2 separate regions of the Homo sapiens genome follow, and region 2 is linked to region 1. The links are contacts of gene promoters, found by promoter capture Hi-C in blood cells and fetal thymus (Javierre and others, 2016). All regions are on one chromosome and are shown on one strand. The core of a region is centred on a gene start or on the middle of the fragment in contact, and the rest is flanking DNA. Distances in the headings are between cores, read along the strand shown.

Evidence for each region. Contacts are between HindIII fragments. The CHiCAGO score rates a contact against its expected background, and 5 or more counts as called.
Region 2: a contact is called between a fragment that was not itself captured here and the fragment with the promoter of GRAMD1B in region 1, in 1 of 17 cell types (fetal thymus). The highest score is 5.1, in fetal thymus.

The regions. Positions count from the first base shown.
Region 1 is chr11:123,428,436-123,434,355 of GRCh38, forward strand. It overlaps GRAMD1B (GRAM domain containing 1B), which reads left to right and starts at 1,834. Exons shown (of 20, transcript NM_001387025.1): 1 at 1,834-2,731. The coding sequence starts at 2,358. LOC124902776 (a long non-coding RNA gene) reads right to left here and starts at 2,779. Exons shown (of 2, transcript XR_007062928.1): 1 at 2,512-2,779; 2 at 1-381. RefSeq lists silencers at 1,972-2,301, 2,412-2,461. The HindIII fragment of the contact is 5,032 bases long and covers 1-4,596 here.
Region 2 is chr11:123,359,178-123,364,817 of GRCh38, forward strand. It overlaps a transcript of GRAMD1B not described here. Among named protein-coding and RNA genes, the nearest start is that of MIR4493, 20 kb to the right of the region's middle. The HindIII fragment of the contact is 2,836 bases long and covers 435-3,270 here.

The DNA.
Region 1 (5,920 bases), core at 584-3,083:
GGGCCAGTGGCTGGATTTCAGAAACGGGGGCTGACATTCCAGGGAGTCATTTATGGGAGGGCCTGGCCTTGGCTCTTCAGCCGCAGTATCTCTCTCCCTGAGGAAGAAATATTTCCCTTGGTTTCCCAGCCTCTCAAAAGTTGTGTAATGTCAGGATGCCTTGAGCTTTTCCATACTTGACAAGTGTCATTGCAGAGCTTGGTAGATCCATAGCCAGCTGTCATCCTTGATGTCTTGCTGAACTGCAGGGATGTATTTACTTGCAGTGAATTCTTGTGATCTTTAGGGATGTGAATTTTCCTCAGCTTCGGGACACTTGTGAAATGTGACTTTTGTCCTGGCACGGAAGCTGGGCATTGGCTCCCAGATGGAAACTGGACTCTGAGAGAGGCAGAAAAGAAGGGTGGATCAGATTGTGGACTTCATGGTATGTTCTTGGGTGCTTCTCATGATCTCTTTGAAAGTTACTGACCAGGCTGGGCATGGTGGCTCATGCCTGTAATCTCAGCACTTTGGGAGGCCAAGGTGGGCAGATCACTTGAGGCCAGGAGTTTGAGACCAGCCTGGGCAATATAGCAAGACCTCATATCGACAAAAAGAAATAAAACTTAGCTGCGTGTGGTGGTGCGCACCTGTACTCCCAGCTACTCAGGAGGCTCAGCTGGGAGGACAGCTTGAGCCCAGGAATTCAAGGTTGCGGTGAGCCATGACTGCACCACTGCACTCCAGCCTGGGCAACAGAGTGAGACTTTGTCTCTTAAAAACAAAACAAAACAAAACAGTTACTGACCCAAGAGACAAATGCATTGGGCTGGGGTTGAAGGAGGAGAATGGCTGCTACAGCCCTGCTCTAGGAGCTGGGCTGGGTTAGACTCAGTGCCCACAGAGAGCACCTAAATAGGATGGATCGGTTCTAGGGTTGATGATCTCTTAGGGCCTGGGTCTAGAGAGTGAGTGTGGTTCAGCACATCTTGGGATGCTACCAGGACTGAACCAGACTTCCTAGGTTCCATGACATGGGGACATACTGGATTCTGTGACTCAGTCCATGGCAGGCTGAAGCAGAACTGAATCAGCCCTCAGCAATGTAAGGGGGGGTACCCTCGACTCCCTGGGGCTCTGTTGGATGCATTGCTTTGTGGGTGCTCACCGACTCCTCATTTCATTCTTTGCTAGGGACGCGGCTATGGTACTGGCAGCTGGCTCATGTACAGGGTTCAGGCCCCATTTTCCTTACTGGTCCTGTGTCCTTTGTCTCTCAGACCCTGTTGTCTGTCTTTCCTTGGTATGTCATGTCTGGTATCCTCAGCTCACGCCGCCACGGGAGAACTGTCCTCTTCTCAGCTTGTCATTTTGGAAGCAGCCTCCAGCAACCTTGCTTTCCTCCTCTGACTATACTCCGGCCTGCAGTGCCACTACTCACGCCCCCAAATAATTTAAACTGCCTTTCTTAGGAGACAAGAGCTAGTTGAAAAGTCTCCTCATTTTCCTTCAACCCTGTATCATGGGTGGCCTGAGAGAGTGAGGACTGAATTCATTGACTCCCCTTTCTCTGCACCCCCCACCCCCAAGGAAATAGCCGAGTTCGACTAATGGGAGTTGCCTGGCCAATCGTTGCCCTGAGAAAGTTTGGTTTGTGATCCTATTTCAGTAGGCTGATTGGAGCAGCCTTTACTTGGAGGTCGAGTCCCTCCCCGAGGGAATCCGTGTACAGTTACACTAGCGGTCGCTGCCAGTGCTAGCCCATTCAGGATAGCCCCCCTCACCCCGCCCCCAGCCCCCGCTCCTCCTCCTCCTTTTTTGTTTTTATCCAGTGTCTCGCTTCCTCTCTCTCTCTCTCTCTCTGTCTCTCTCTCCCTTTCCCTCCTACCACTGCCTCTTCCTCCCGCTCTCTACCTCCCTGCAGCGCCAAGCCGGCTCCCCAACCTGGTCTGCTGAACGCAAACCGCTGAGAGTTTGCTGCACCGCCCCCTGGGGCCCCTGGCTGCCGAGTCCCGCTAAGGCAAAGACGCCAGCAAGCGAGGAAGCGCAGCGGAAGAAAAACAAGCGGGCGCGCGAGGGGAGCCCCAGGAGGGCTGCCGAGTGGCTGGCAGGCGGCTCCCGCCCCTCCCGGGTGGCCTCGCCGGCGGCTGACGGCCCGGAGGACGCGCGCTCCGAAAAGTTAGACTCCGGGCGGCGGCGCGCTACGCCGCGTCCCCTCGCGTCCCTTCCTCGCTGCGCTCCGGGAAAGGAACTTGTTCCTTCGGCCCCAGGATTGGGGAGTGTGCCGCGGGGCCGAGGGTGGGGAACAGCCAGAGGGAGACGCGAACCAGGCCGCTGGCGGAGGGCTCAGGGGGAGCGCAGAGGCGACGGCCCCCATGCCGGCGGCCAACATGATGGAGAACCGGCCGCTGCCCGCCCTGCAGGTGCCCGAGCCGCAGGGTGCGCCCGAGGGCAGCCCGGTCTGGTCCAGTTCGTCGACCCCCACGCTTCGCCGCCGGCGCTTCAAGATGCGCCGCATGAAGAACGTACAGGAGCAGAGCCTGGAGGCCGGGCTGGCCCGGGACCTGCCCGCCGTCTTGGCCCCCGGCAAGGAGTTCCTGCAGCTGCCGTCCATCGAGATCACGCCCTCCAGCGACGAGGACACCCCGTGGTCCAACTGCTCCACACCCAGCGCGTCCCCGCGCCGAAAACGCTTCCTCCTCCGCAAGTGGCTGAGGGTGAGGGAGCGGAAGGAGTGCAGTGAAAGCAGGTACGTCCCCGTTCCGCCCGTCTCCTTCCCTTCCCTCCCGTCCTCTCCAGAGCCGTCCAGGGCCCCGGGGCATTCTGGGGGAAACGTCCTGGGGGAGAACAGGAGCCCGTCACCAGAGGCGCTTCTGGAGGGCGCTGCGCCTGGTCCCAGGGATGGTGGCATTCAGCTTCCACGCGTGCCACCCGCTCCCCAACTCAGGGTGAGGGGCTTCATGTTGCACGACACGTTTACGTGGGGCTTTACGCTGCATTCCATCTCCCTTGATCCTCGCAGCGAAATAAATAATAAAAATAATAACAGCTAATAGTTATTGAGCCCTTACCATGTGCGGGCCACTATGTTGCGCACTTCATGTACCTCCAGATTTCATCCCTACGCAAACTCTCTGAGGTAGGTATTACTATGGCTCCCTTTCTACAGAAGGAGATAGTAAAAGGCCAGAGAACAGTTAAGTGGTTTATATTTCAGGACTCCGTTTCAATCTTATTTTATGTTTGGCCACACCGGATTGCCTTAACTGGCTCACTTGTGTGGAAGTGAAATATTGACATTGAGTGAGTCACATTTCCTACCATATCAGAGTCTTTAGACATCGATACCTACAAGACTGTGGTTTGTACCAGCTAGTTTTTTGCCTAGGTCAATGTGGCATCTGGGTAATGGGAGAAGGTTGAGCTTCCCTCACGTAGAGAATTGCTGCAGGGCGCCCTAGAGCAGCTCTACACAGCCCTGGTCAGGACTGCTGCTTCAGGAAGTTGTGTCTGAGCCAAGCCCCTTGCCTGGTGGAGGGCAGGGAGTCCTCACTTGTTCATCGGTACCACGAATCCTACATATTTACTTTGAGACTTTAGGGTCCTGTCTCTTAATGGATTTGTGTTCTTGTGCGGAGCAACTGAGTCATTGATCACTTTCCCTGGAATTCCTTCTCCAAATCTGTTCAATTACATTGATTTCAATTCAGTAAGTACTTACTGAATATTTCTGTGAGCTCAGTCTAGTAACAGCTAATAGTGGTGATGTTGAGGAGGGTGTGGGGGAAGGATAGGTAGAGTAAGGGGTTGTAGAGGCTGAGAAGGAAGATGAGGGGAGGCTTGTATAAGAAATGAACACCTGGGCACAGTGGCTCACACCTGTAATCCCAGCACTTTGGGAGGCCGAAGCGTGTGGATCACTTGAGGTCAGGAGTTCGAGACCACCCTGGCCAACATGGCGAAACTCCATTTCTGTTAAAAGTACAAAAATTAGCTGGGTGTAGTGGCAGGCTCCTGTAATCCCAACTACTTGGGAGGCTGAGGCAAGAGAATCGCTTGAACCTGGGTACAGGGGCTGCAGTGAGCCAAGACTGTGCCACTGCACTCCAGCCTGGGCCACAGAGTGAGACTCTGTCTCAAAAAAAAAAAAAAAAATTGAAGACCTGTGGGAGCCATTGGAAAACATACTGTGCTGTGTGGTACTGATTGTACTAGAAAAGAGAGAGTTCTGGAGAAGTAGAGGAAGACTTCTTGAAGGAAGAGGCTGACACCATGACAAATACAGATGGGTAGTAGAAAACAGCAGGAAAAGAATGAGGTTGGGTGCATAAGACTGGCTGAAGGGAACAATATGAAGAATGGCAGGAGAAACAGGATGAGCCATGTGTCTTTGCGGGGTGGGGACTGAGGAGTAGGATCCGTTATGCAGAAGATGGGCATTTTGGGCCTTCCAGAGTTTATCTTTTCTGTTTGCAACAACTGAGCATGGTTCTCTCAGCAGGTGCAGATACAGAGCTTTGTTCCGTGGATTTTTGTGGACGCTGGGGATAGAAGTTCTTTCTGTTTGGTACTTCATCCTGCTACCCTTTTCACAGAGTAGAGGGAAATGGGGCAAGCTTGGTGGGAGCTAACCTTGAACTAAAGTAGTTTGTCAGGCCAGGGGCGGTGGCTAATGCCTGTAATCCCAGCACTTTGGGAGGCTGAGGCGGGAGGGTCACCTGAGGTGAGGCGGGAGGGTCACCTGAGGTCAGGAGTTCGAGACCAGCTTGGCCAACATGGTGAAACCCTGTCTCTACTAAAAATACAAAAAATTAGCCAGGTGTAGTAGCGGGTGCCTGTAATCCCAGCTACTCGGGAGGCCAAGGCGGGAGAATTGCTTGAACCCGGGAGGTGGAGGTTGCAGTGAGCCAAGATCGCGCCATTGCACTCCAGCCTGGGCAACAAGAGCGAAACTTCATCTTAAATGAATAAATAAATAAAGTAGTTTGTCATGGCTTGTCGGCTTTTCCCTCCAATGTAAAAGAAACTAAAAGAGACCTTCTTTTGATCTTGAGATTCTGCCATATATACTGAGGACAAAATATGGTAAAAAGAGCCGGGTGCAATGGCATGGCCTGTATTCCCAGCTACTTGGGTTGTGGTGTGAGGATCACATGAGCCCAAGAGTTCAAGGCTTTAGTAGGCTATAATGGTGCCTGTGAATAACCACTGCATTTCAGCCATGGTGAGACCCCCACCCCCAACGCTTAAAATGTTACGTGCGTGTGTGTGTGTGTGTGTGTGTGTGTGTGTGTGTCTTTGTGTGTATGAAGAAAAAAATCTTGCATTGCTGGCTAGGATGGGGATGACAGTAGATTTGGTTAGATTTAGGAAGGTATTCCTGGTTTCGAGAGTTGTCTATGTGTGTAGTGGAACCTTCATTTTGTTGGATTTGGGGACATATCCTTAAAATTTGGCAGGATTTTCATCTAGATGTAGTTCAGGCAGTTATTTTAAGTGGTGACTTTTGGATTAGAAGAACCTATGTATCAGCCGGGCGCAGTGGCTCACGCCTGTAATCCTAGCACTTTGGGAGGATGAGGCAGGCAGATTGCCTGAGCTCAGGAGTTAGCCACCAACTTGGGCAACACGGAGAAACACCGTCTCTACTAAAAATACAAAAATTAGCCAGGTGTGGTGGTGGACACCTGTAGTCCCAGCTACTCGGGAGGCTGAGGCAGGAGAATTGCTTGAACCTAGGAGGTGGAGGTTGCAGTGAGCCGAGATCTCGCCACTGCACTCCAGCCTGGGCAACAGAGTGAGACTCCGTTTCCAAAAAAAAAAAAAAAAAAAAAAAACCACCACCAACAAAAAACAAGAACATATGTATCTGAAAAGGCAGACTCTGGATTCAAATTCAAATTCGTGTGACTCACATCTACTCTTAGCTACTGTTATA
Region 2 (5,640 bases), core at 603-3,102, 69 kb before region 1:
TCTCTATCTTGCTGGCAAAAGTTTGAACTGGAAGCACTGGCTTCCCTTGTTCTGGGCAGTGCTGCCATCTCCCTACCTGGCTGCCCCATCAGTCTTACGCCTATTCTGCTTGCATGGTAGAAGTCCGAGATTTGGCAAAAAGACAAAGTGTACATCATGGGGGTACCTAGGGAGACGAGGAAGAGGCTCTGCTTCTCGTTTCCTCTGAGGGTGGAAGTGAGAGGTTCCATCCCAGAGGAAATAGAGTTACTCTTGTGGAGTAGATGAAGGAATGAGAAGGTGTGGTCATTAGAATGAAGTTTTTAGAGCCCAAACAACTTGTTTGCACCCATCAGCCAACCTCATGCCTGGATAAACTTCATTCCTCAAAAAGTTCCTCAGCAGGATATGCAGGCGCCAAGGTAACATGAACAAACAGCTGCTTGCTGCCCCCAAGCTTTAGTTTCTAGTGGGCCTGGAGCAATTGTGAAGGACAACTCCACCCAAGGCCCAGTATTGAAGAGGGGTAGGGTGGGAGGATTGTACATATCGCGAACGCTTGGCAAATCTCTAGATTTTTTTTCCTCCTAGGAAATAATAATTTTTAAAAAGGCTTGTAAAAAATAATAAAATGTTTCATGACAGCAGCAGATGTAAAACTCCCACTACTCTGGGCAAGGACAAAGAAATTTGTGCAGGGGGCTGAGCTTTCTCCTCTGCCAACGCCTACATGGGTACATCACCTTTTGGAGATACAAATAGTATTTTTAGTGTTTTATGGATGAGGAGCCCTTCTCCTGGGAACTTTTGGGGAGGGGCGGATCTCAGCTGGGGCTCTCTCTTGGAGTTCAGGAAACTGAATAGTAGAAATAGGCTGAAAATGCTACATTTCTACACACTACCCCAAGGTCCCACTATACTCCTAAGCTGATATAGAATCTCACTGTGGAACAGATACAGTCAAAGAGAGGCACTCCTGCTTCCCAGTGTAACACACACCGATCTCTCTCTCTTCTCTCTTTCATTTAATAATATTTAGGAGGTTAGATAGGAAAGTGTAGACATGTAACTCTTATTCCCTCTATTCAACTATGCCTCCTGCCTTTGTTCCTTACTTGAAGATCATGTCTCTTGCTTGTACTGAATGTTCCTATTTATGGGACCTTCACTGCAGCTTAGAGCTTTAGTTGCCTTTGATGGTGTACAGCGAGGTTTCTAGTGTTTGCCCGAAGGCTCTTTCCTTTGGCGTATTTATTTGTAACTTGCTTAGGAGATCTCATCCTCACCTTGCAATTTGGATGAAGAGTTCTGCTGGGCGTCACTGGTGTTCAAGAGATCCAGGTCTCAAAAGGGCGTGTGGTAGTTTTAGTTTTTTCCGTCCGTGCTCAAAAGCTGTTTGGTTTTGGAGATTTGGGGCTGTGCTTTGGTGATAGTGTTGGAAGGAAACCATTATGAGCAACTGATCAATACCTAGCCAAGCTGGGGTGCCAATTTGACATTGTCACAAAAAGTGAGTGCCCTATTTGGTTGCCTGATCAGCTGTGTTCAATGATCATAGGCCTGAAATGAAATCACATTCTTTCCTTCCTTCTTTCCTTCCTTCCTTCCTTCTTTCCTTCCTTCCTTCCTTCCTTCCTTCCTTCCTTCCTTCCTTCCTTCCTTCCTTCCTTCCTTCCTTCCATGGAGTTTCGCTCTTATTGTGCAGACTGGAGTGCAGTGGTGCAATCTGGGCTCACTGCAACCTCCGCCTTCCGGTTTCAAGTGATTCTCCTGCCTCAGCCTCCCGAGTAGCTGGGATTACAGGCGCCCACCACCATGCTCAGCTAATTTTTTGTATTTTTACTAGAGATGGGGTTTCACCATGTTGGCCAGGCTGGTCTCGAACTCCTGACCTTGTGATCCACCCACCTCAGCCTCCCAAAGTGCTGGGATTACAGGCGTGAGCCACTGCGCCTGGCTGAAATCACATCCTTCTAAGGAGATGGCATTTGTCCCTGCCATCTCCTTCCAGCCTTTGCTTTTCCACCATAGTAGTCATTTGATGTCCTTGCAGATTAGCTCACTGGTGGGCCCTCTCAATACACACATCTGTAATATGTATGCTTGTCACTGAAATCACCAGCCCTAGGTCTGCAGCTGCACTCCAGAGGTGTTTCCACTGTGCTGCTCCAACTGTCGGCTGCTTTTGCACAGGTGGCATGTAGTTTTCAGTGTTTGTGTCTTTGGGCTGCTGTTTACAACACTGCTAGGAATTGTCACCCATTCTGCTTGCCCTGCAGAAGAGGTCACTTTCTCCTGGGGTGTCTGCTGCACTTCATACTCTTACTTTTCATGGATCTTTCAGCTTGATCAAGATTTTTACTTTCTTCTTCTCCTTTCTCCGTCTTGCAACTGTGGACTGGTGCATCAGGAAACACATTTCTTTTCCTGTCTAGGCACGGTCATTCTTCAAATGGTAATAAAAGCCTTCATTCCTTGATTTGATCCAGTGCCCCGATATGTACAAACCAGAAACACTGCACATATATTTTAGCTGTAAGAGTTCCATATACCCTTTATTGTGGTGTATACAGACTCTGACTTCCAAGGTGTACTCCAGTATCTGCTCTGCTTCATACCTGGTGGGTCTGCATTGCACATCTGCATAATGAATGGACGTTGCCAATAACAGGCAGGAGGAGTGGCAACAGTGTTACTGCAGAGAAAGAGAAAGAGAGAGAGAAAGTATCTTAGGAAACGGGATGGTAAGTAGGCACATGGTCTTATGAGGGTCACCTTAATTTATTAAAGCCTCATTTGGTAGGCATGAGAATAGAATTTATTAGTTGGTGGACCACTTGGCAGCAGCCTCATACACAGATCTATAAGATATTTAAATACTTTTCTGGAATGGGTTGACGTTGATGAATTTGTGACATAGTGGTCTGTTAACCATCTTTCCTCTTAGGTGTTCCTTAAACCAACAGCAATGTTGTCTTCAGAAAGTTGCTGGTGATCCACAGTAGGGGAGAGGAATATCTCTAGTTGTTCATGAGCATCACAGGTGAATAACCCATTCTAGGCATATACCAGGCATACAGAATGAGCTAAACTGTGTTGGTTTCATCAGCCATTCTAACTGGCTTAAAACTCTCTGAATCCTTTGGCTTGAAACTAGGTCAAATGGTGAGACCTTTTTGAGATCCTAATGGGCATAAAACAGGAAGTATCTTTCTCCTGTCAGCACCCTCATGGGCTCTTGGTGCAACTCTGGATCTTCTGGTAAAAGAGAAGTTTTTCCCTTCTGAGCCAAGCTTGCAACAGGGTTAATTTGGGGGTGGCCATGGACTTCAGGGGTCAGAATTGGAGAGTGCAACTTGCATTTATTTTTTTAAAAAAGCTTCATAAAAATAAAAATTGATTTATACAAAAACACAAGACCAGTGATGTACTACCTACCTACTCTCCCACCCCATGAGTTGCTGAGCTCAATGGATAGTAAACATATTAATCTAGATGAGGAAGTATAAAAAGGCCATCTTTGCAGCTCATCTGCCATCCAATCTAATTGAACTCTGAAATCCCATCTTTCTAGATATGTTCCATGTCTGGGACTTGGGGAAGGGGTAGGGGATAGGGGGAGAGGCAGGGATGGAAGAGAGCAATTCCTAGAAAAGTTTGTGAGATCCACCGAACCTGGAGATACAGGCTGCCCCGGAAGGCAAGGGCAGCCCTGGTGAGGGTGCTGGAAGCATGGGAGGAGAACCAGTCCCTGGGAAGGAGAGAAAGAGAAATGACACATAGAAATGATGAGGGAGGGGAGGGTAGGGTGGCGGAGAGAGGAAGCAAGCCAAAGAGGAGGAGGGAGAGGAAACAGATGGAACAAGAGGAAGATGCAGCGAGCAAACGCAAGAAAAGGCCAAAGAGGGGAAAAGAGCAGAAGATAAGTGAAAGCAGCACCTTGCTTTCAGGTTTTTTCTCTTCCCCGTTTTCCTCTGGCAGAGGGAGAATGCAAGCGAGCCAGCAGAACAGCGTGGTTTTTGTGCTTTGGAGGCTTCTCATTGAAGCTGTCAAGCCTCAACCCCTCACGGCAGCTCATTCTATTTTTATATTTTGCAGAATGGAAATTAAACAAATGACCCCGTGATGGCGTTTTCATGAAGATTTTATCCAGCACACCCACACAACCAGTGCTGGGGTGGCTGAATATTTAGCATAATATTCTATTTAATCAGATAAGAAGGTATCCTCAAGAGAGTGGCAGACATGAAGCCTGGGCTTTGATAACCGCCTGTAAAGAACTGTTTTGATGAGGGTGGGCAGAAGTCAGAAAGGAACCTTGTTCTCTGGCTTTTGGGCTTGTTAGTAGGAAGAACCCCAGTTAACTGAATTCTGGTGGAGCTTAGCATTTCCCCTCTCATACTCTCTCTCATACTTTTTTTTTGTTTGTTTTTTTTTGGCACTGGGTTTGGTTCCAGACTTTGTGAGCCCTCATGGTTCAGTTCTCCTTGGAGATCTCATTGGCGGCTAAAAATGGCTCACTTTGGCTGAACTTGCCCTGAGTGGAAGCCTTGCTTAGAATTTGGGTGCTCACTCTATTTGTTGGCCTGGTTAGGGAAGCTGGTGTGTACTTTGCTGACGGGACAGTGCTTAGGCAGCTGGCATAATGATGCACATCTAGTACTTGGTGAGAACACAAAGCAGATGATATTTTATTGGCTTAGACACGGACTTACTTCCTTAAGTCCCAGAAGATTTAGTAGCAATTAAATGCATGCCCGTTTGCACATAACCATCCTTTTGAAGGAAAACAAAAACAAAAACCAACAATGCATGTTAAGGGGGCCAATCAATCGGACATGGTTGGTTGGGTGGATGTAAAAATGTGAGACTGTTCAGAAGGCTTCTCACTGCCATGCACGTGTTTGTGTTTAACAGGGTATTTATGGGCTCTTTTTCCTTATATATTGAAGGGTTATATAATTCCCCAGCTATTAACCTTTAAAATGCTGTTTTTACAAGTTCAGTACCTAGACTAGATAGCAATAAAGAGTGATGTTGAGTCAGCCTGACTTCAAAGGGAGCGATGGGTGGAACAGTTGGACTCGGAAAGGAGCGCTTCTTCCTACCAGCTAGCCTTGTAGTGGCTGATTTTTCCCTCTGAAATGAAACAGGCTTACTAGCCAGAGACTATTCCCTGCAGTGACTATAAAAAGGTATCTTCGTCTCTGACGCAGGGAGCGATTGAGAGCATCGGCATGAGCCATCTGAGTGTGCGTTCAAAGACCTGAGGAAAGGCAGGATTGACAGTCTATTAAGGGGAAGACAGAAGCCGCTATCCTTTTCCTCCTCTAATTAGGCATCCGTGTGCATTTTCTCTCACCATTCTTTGTTCTTGCCTATCTGATTAAGACAGTTCATCTGGCATAGCTTTGAAGCGAAGGAATGTTTTTATGCACGTTGAGGAAGAAGAGGAATAAGATAAACTCAGGTCAGAACTTCCTTTACTATGTCATTTTCAGAGTATGGCTTCCCAGATACAAGGCTCCATCTTTCAGGTCTCTCTGCTCAGCCATGCTCCAGAGTTGAAATGTTTCTCAGTGGCAGCCCTACAAGCTGAACGTGACTGTCTCCTTTGCTGCTTTGGCATGTGTTTTCCCCAGGCTCCTCTACTTGGGCCCT